Linked DNA regions of Homo sapiens: region 2 is linked to region 1. The links are contacts of gene promoters, found by promoter capture Hi-C in human tissues and cell types (Jung and others, 2019). All regions are on one chromosome and are shown on one strand. The core of a region is centred on a gene start or on the middle of the fragment in contact, and the rest is flanking DNA. Distances in the headings are between cores, read along the strand shown. Region 1 holds the start of KIAA1671. Region 2 overlaps MYO18B (myosin XVIIIB).

What was found. The method cuts DNA at HindIII sites, captures the fragments that hold promoters and counts their contacts. A contact is called where the count stands out against the background at its distance.
Region 2: a contact is called between a fragment that was not itself captured here and the fragment with the promoter of KIAA1671 in region 1, in 2 of the 25 tissues and cell types used here (lymphoblastoid cells and spleen).

What each region holds. Positions count from the first base shown.
Region 1 is chr22:24,951,112-24,954,176 of GRCh38, forward strand. KIAA1671 reads left to right here and starts at 1,605. Exons shown (of 13, transcript NM_001145206.2): 1 at 1,605-1,661. RefSeq lists a silencer at 1,422-1,671. The HindIII fragment of the contact is 5,810 bases long and covers 1-3,065 here.
Region 2 is chr22:25,902,217-25,905,281 of GRCh38, forward strand. MYO18B (myosin XVIIIB) reads left to right here. Exons shown (of 44, transcript NM_032608.7): 30 at 397-520; 31 at 1,415-1,615. Among named protein-coding and RNA genes, the nearest start is that of MYO18B-AS1, 3.8 kb to the left of the region's middle. The HindIII fragment of the contact is 3,439 bases long and covers 1-3,065 here.

The sequences.
Region 1 (3,065 bases), core at 355-2,854:
TCTCCTACTCACAGACTTCTCTCTGGAAGTGGTAGTTGTCTGTAAAAGCAACTGGGTTTGATCCTTTTGATGACTGTACTCAAGATACCCAGATGATAAGGAGAATGTCTTGAGACATGAGACCTCATGGGACCTCTGCCCCCCAATTCCTGGGTTCCAGCACTGTACACAAGTCAGTTGGGGGTTCTCGGGCTGCTGTTTGGTAAACAGGGTTTACCCTGCCTGGGTCTGATGGTGATGATCAGACCTTCAAAAGGGTTGCAGTGCAAACGGTGTGGAGAACAGGAGCTACCCTTGTTTCTTACACACACCCAACAATTTAAGAGCAAAATGAGGCAAGAAGTCTCCCCACCAATCCTCCTGAAGCCACACAATGTGATGTCTTTTTCTTTTTTTTTTTTTTGAGATGGAGTCTTGCTCTGTCGTCCAGGCTGGAGTGCAGTGGCGCGCTCTTGGCTCACTGCAATCTCCACCTCCCGGGTTCAAGCCATTCTCCTGCCTTAGCCTCCCGAGTAGCTGGGATCACAGGCATCCGCCACCACGCCCAGCTAATTTTTGTAATTTTTAGTAGTGACGAGGTTTCACCACGTTGGCCAGGCTGGTCTCAAACTCATGACCTCAGGTGATCCACCCGCCTCGGCCTCCCAAAATGCTGGGATTACAAGCCACCGTGCGCAGCCTGTGATGTCCTTTTCTTTCTCTTTTTTTATTGAGGTCTATCTTGCTTATAATAAAGGCACATTGATTTTAGGTCCTCCAGTTATTCATGCTCTGTACATTTCCCATAGGAGCACATGTCACAGATTCAATTTGATATACTCGTGAAATTATTTGTTTGAATATCTGTAAGCTGCACAACAGCCTGGATTTTGCCAGCTGCCCACCACTGGGTTCTCCAGCACCCAGCATGCAATAGGTGCTTAATAAAGATCTGCTGAATGAAATGAGTAACGGATAACAGAACAGGTATTTTCTCTTTCAGAGGCGACTTCCTACGATTCTCTCAACTTGTCCACAAGTTCCTGTACCCATTACCCCACAACTCACACCCACAACATAATGGCAGGAGGATGCGCACACAGTAGGCGCTCCAGCGAACTCTCAGGTGCAGTGCCCTTGCTTGGCGCGAGGAGGCGCCAGCACCGCGCACAGACCTTGCCCGCCCCCGGGCCGGCACCAGCAGCCCAGGCAAGTCAGTGGGCCCACATTTATGGAGCGCCTCCTGAAATCCTGGGTTGCATTAGGCTCTCGGGGTCGCCGGCTGGGCAGCGGGTCGGTGCCGGTGGCGGGGGATCCTGGCTGGTGACTGGGGAACATCCAGGGAACGCGGGAGGGTACCCGGAGCAAAGTTCCCAATTGGACAGAGCGGGGTCGGGCCTCGAGGGGCGGGAGCGCTTCCGGCAGGGGTGTCCAAGCGAGTCGTGACCTCTGACCCGCCGGAGAGGTCCCAGGCCCAGGCGCCACTGCGGACTCGGGTCCTGCCTGCTCTGCTCCCCTCCGCGCAGGCGCGGCCGGCGGCAGTTCCCATGGTGACGGGGGCGCGTCCCCGCTCGAGGCCCCGCCCCCAGCAGGCTAGGCTGCGCGGGGCTGCGGGCTCCCAGGGCAGGTGCCGCGGGCTGCGGGCAGGTGGCGGCGCGGCGCGGGCTGGCGGTGGCTCCACGGTAGGTTGCGCAGCGGCTGCGGGCAGTGGGGGCCGGCTGGCCGCCTCCTGTCCCCGGCCGACGAGGTAGCTGGGGGTGACGGCGGCTGGCGAGGGCCGCCAAGTTTCTGCCCGGCCGAGGCCCCGGGAGAAAAGTTGGCAAAGTTGGCCGGGGAAGAGGCGGGGAGCCGGAGGATTTCCCCAGACTCCGGGTCTGCAGGGAGGGAGGATCCCGGTTTGGGAGCCGGGGAATCCGTCTCCCGAGACTTGAGAGTGGATCCCGCGGGAAGATCCCGCACAGGGCAACCAATGGATCACGTGCCACCTGGTTGGCGACTTGGGAGTCGATCCCTGGAGGGGATCGGGCGCTGGAGGCCTGGGGTCCCACTGGATCCCCAGTCAGGGGTGACGGCGAAGGGTGATTCGAGACTGGGAGCGAGAGGATCAATCTCCTCCCATGCCAGCCTGAGCCTTGGGAATGGATTCAGAGAGATCCCGTGGCTAGGAGCTGAGGGATCGCTGGAGATCTGGGTTACTCAGCCTGGAGCTGCTAGGGTCTGGACATTTGTGCGGGTTGGAGGCCCCGGAGGTGGAAGTGGGAAGCAAGGGCGGCGAGCGAGACGGAACCCTGGTCGAGGGGAGCCCGGAGGACAGCGCGGTGGTTCGGGGGGCGTGAGAGGGGCGGCGCGCGGGGCCCCTCGGACGCGGAGGCTCCGGACACGTCCTCTCGGCCTGGCCTGCGCCCCCCCTCCGCTCGTCTTCCCAGGGCGGAGGCGCCCTGATGGGATTAAGCCTCAGTCCCCCTGTTACCAGGCAGGCCCGCGTGGTCCCCGCCCCGATGGCGGCGCGGCCCACCCGGGCTCACGGGTGGGGCCCTCGGGATGGGAAGCGGCTCGTTGACCCCCACCCGAGCCTGACCTTTTCACACCCTGCTGGCACAAACTCGCCTGGGAGTGGGGACGCCGCGCCTTAAAACCCTGCTGTTTGTCCAGTCCCGGAGCAGGCGTGTGACCTCCACCGCGCGACGCCTAGGTGGCTAGGGCTTCCTGCCTGCCGGGACTGAACTTTCTCTAGCCAGGAGCAGCCATTATCTTTTGGAAGGGAAAGGACTGTACCTGTTGCACAAAGAAAAACACTTTCTTTGCACCTTTTTTGTGACCTTGGGCAAAACACTTAACCTATCTGAATCCAGATGGGGACCCTCTGGGCAAAATGGGCTTGGCCTAGGATGGATCGGAATGAAGGGTATGAAACAGGTAGGGGCTCTATAAGTATCAGTGCCTCCCTCAGTCTATGGCCTCTCCTTTCCCGTGCCCCATCCCCTGTGCTTGCCTTACAGTATCTAAAGATTCCAGAAACCCTACTTGCTATCTTTTGAAACCGCAGGATTAGAGAGCTATTTAGCTTAACCTTTCTTCCAAATGGG
Region 2 (3,065 bases), core at 189-2,688, 950 kb after region 1:
ATTTTAGGGTTAGCATTTAGATTAGCATTTTAGTAGGGAGATGATGGGGGCAGCAGAAGTCTCAGTCTAACAGTGGAAATTCAGGCAGAATGACTATGGTGAGGGAGAAATCTAGAATTATAAGTATATCGAATAGTTCTGTGGCAAGTCTACCTCAACCCTAAAAATTGCTCTGTGGTTTTTCAGATTCCCACCCTACATCCACAGCCTTACGTAAAAGCATTGAGAAAAACTTCCAACTTCTCATACTTTCTCTATCTCTCTTCTTCCTTTTGCTCTCTTTCTAATGGTTCTTGGGAAACTAGCGGCCTCTCTGCAGCCCCTCCCTGCCCCTGCCTCAATCACTCCCCTGCCCACCTGCCTACGGGGCCCTGACACGTGCTCTGCTTTGCACAGGTTTGACCTGCAGCTGGCCCAGGCCCTAGGTGAGTCAGTGTTTGAGAAGGGTCTCCGTGAGAAAGTGACCCAGGAGAACACCAGTGTCCGGTGGGAGCTAGGCCAGCTTCAGCAGCAGCTGAAGGTAAGGGATGGGGGACACAGAGCTATCTTGGCTCTTGGTGGCTAAATCTCGGGAAACTGCATCGTGCACCTGCTGCAAATGGTGACAGAGAGAAAACTTCACAAGGGTATCCTGGTCTGTCAAGCAGCTGAATCCCAGTGTGTCTTAATAAAATAGCAAATGGTGGCTGGTAAATTGATAATCAGACTTTGAGCAAGATTGATGTCTTGATCTTGCTTCAGTTACCTGCACAGGTTCCGAGGTGCTTACCTGGGAGGTATAACAGGCTCAGCAGAGAATGAGTTAGCTATAACCTTGTCCAGGAGCAATGTCCTGGTCCAAGCAGGCTCCAATGCAGAGAGATTTTACTAAAATACAACACGGGTGCCTCACTCAGCTGCTCCTCATCCTTTTGTGGTTCTCTACTACTCGCAGGAGAACCTCTGAGCGCTTTAGCCTGGCGTTCAACTCCTTCACGATCTGGCCCAAAGTTATTTGATCCTGGAGCTGACTTTGTAACCTGGAAGAGTCATTTCTGAGCACTTTGCCTCCCTGCTCCAACATCTCAATCCCAGCCTCAGACGGCACACAGGGAAGCTTTAGCTGTGTGCCTCCACTTCCCTTACAAATGGGGTCAACCCTTCCTGTAGGTGCTCTGAGATCGAACTCTAGGGACAATTTATTCCAATCCTACCTCCCACCCCCAACTCCATGCCTGTAGGAGCTATACCAAGAGCAGCCCTTGCTGGTGTCCCACAGGGGGCGCTGTGAGGGACGGTGGGGTCCAGGTGGAAATGGCAGGCATTGGAAAGTGGAAAACGCCACTCCAGCCCCAGTTGGTTGTAGAGGTATCCCTGGGGGAGGAGGGAGGCATACTCATGTGACTCCAGATCTCTGTCCTCTTTGTCTCTGTAGCAAAAGGAGCAGGAAGCCTCACAGCTGAAGCAGCAGGTGGAGATGCTACAGGACCATAAACGGGAGCTGCTGGGGTCACCCTCTCTGGGGGAAAATTGCGTTGCTGGCTTGAAGGAGAGGCTCTGGAAGTTGGAATCCAGCGCCCTTGAGCAACAGAAAATCCAGAGCCAGCAGGAAAACACCATCAAGCAGCTGGAGCAGGTAGGAAAGCCCTGTCTCAGGGCAACACCCTGTCCCATGTCTCCAATGCAGAGTGATGTTATTAAAATACAATGTGGGTGCCTCACTTGGCTGCTCCTCATCCTTCAATGGCTCCCTATTATCCCAGGGAACCTTTAAGCTCCTAAGTCTGACATTCAGATCCTTCCTGATCCAGCTCTCCCCTGCAAGGTTCAGTGTCACCTCCTCAGAGAAGCCTGCCTTAATCATCTTGCAAATAGCTCCCACTAGGTTGCATTCATTTCCCATCTCCTTAGCTGGGTTGCTTTACTCTCTGGTACCTGCCATCGTATTAGATAGTATTTTTTAAAAGTTTGCTTTATGCCTTTCTCTCTCATTAACATATAAGCTTCATGAAGTCAGATTGTTTTTCTCTTTCTCTTGCTTCTTAGTGCAATCCTAGAGCCTAGAATGAGGCCAGGTACATAGCTGATGCTCAATAAATAGCTGTTGACCAAATATCTAACATTCATTGAGTACTGTCTGTATACTAACCTCAGCCCTAAGCTCTCCCCACACATCTCACGAATCTCCACATGAACCTTATGTAGGGAGATCTTAGTATTATCCCCACTTTACGGATGTAGAAGTTGAGACTCAGAGACATGGAGAAAGTATCAGGGATGGGATTTGGAACCTGTGTCATCTGACCCCACACTGCCTCGAATGTCTGCTATGTGCTAGGCATTGTGCACAGCTTCGGGGCAGATTGAAGTGCTACTCTTTGGGGAAAATAAAATAACAAAGGGAATAAGACAAAAATATCAAATACTCTTGTACCAGTACCCTCTGCAAAGTACCAGATGAATACTTTATTTGTCTGCTTGCTTATTTATGTACTTACTTATTTACCTCATTCTATAAATAATTTGAGGCAGCTTACAAGATACATGTATAATAGAACACAAAAATTGTAAATAAAACAATCCAAACCACAAAAGTACAAAATAAAATAGACACTAAGGAGGAGGGTGGGGGCAGTGAATTAATAGGCAGATAAAGCATAACATATGGTCTTACACACATAATAATTTTAGCTCTAAAATTCCTGGTGGCCAGAAAGAAAAAGGAAATGTGAGTTACATGCCTGAGATAAAAAAAAAAAAAAAATTTCTAGGGGAAGTAAGACTTCTTCTGATGCTTGGCTCTAAACGAATTTCTCTTGTGGGATTTTGTAAAAGGCAATTATTTTAAAGTGTTTTTTTTAAAAAAAATGCTGAGGCCACCGTTATGCGAGAAAATGTGACCAGGTGTCATGAATGTGTAAAGCAGATGAACTCTGAGCAGCTCTGTTGAACTGAAGTGGGGATGGGTGGGACAGGGGATGGGGGAACCAGGGGTCAGCTCTTGCTTCTTGCTAACCACTGCTCCAACAAGATGGAGCCTGGTGAGTATCAAGACATGTGGGTGGTGGGTGTTGGGGAACAAGATC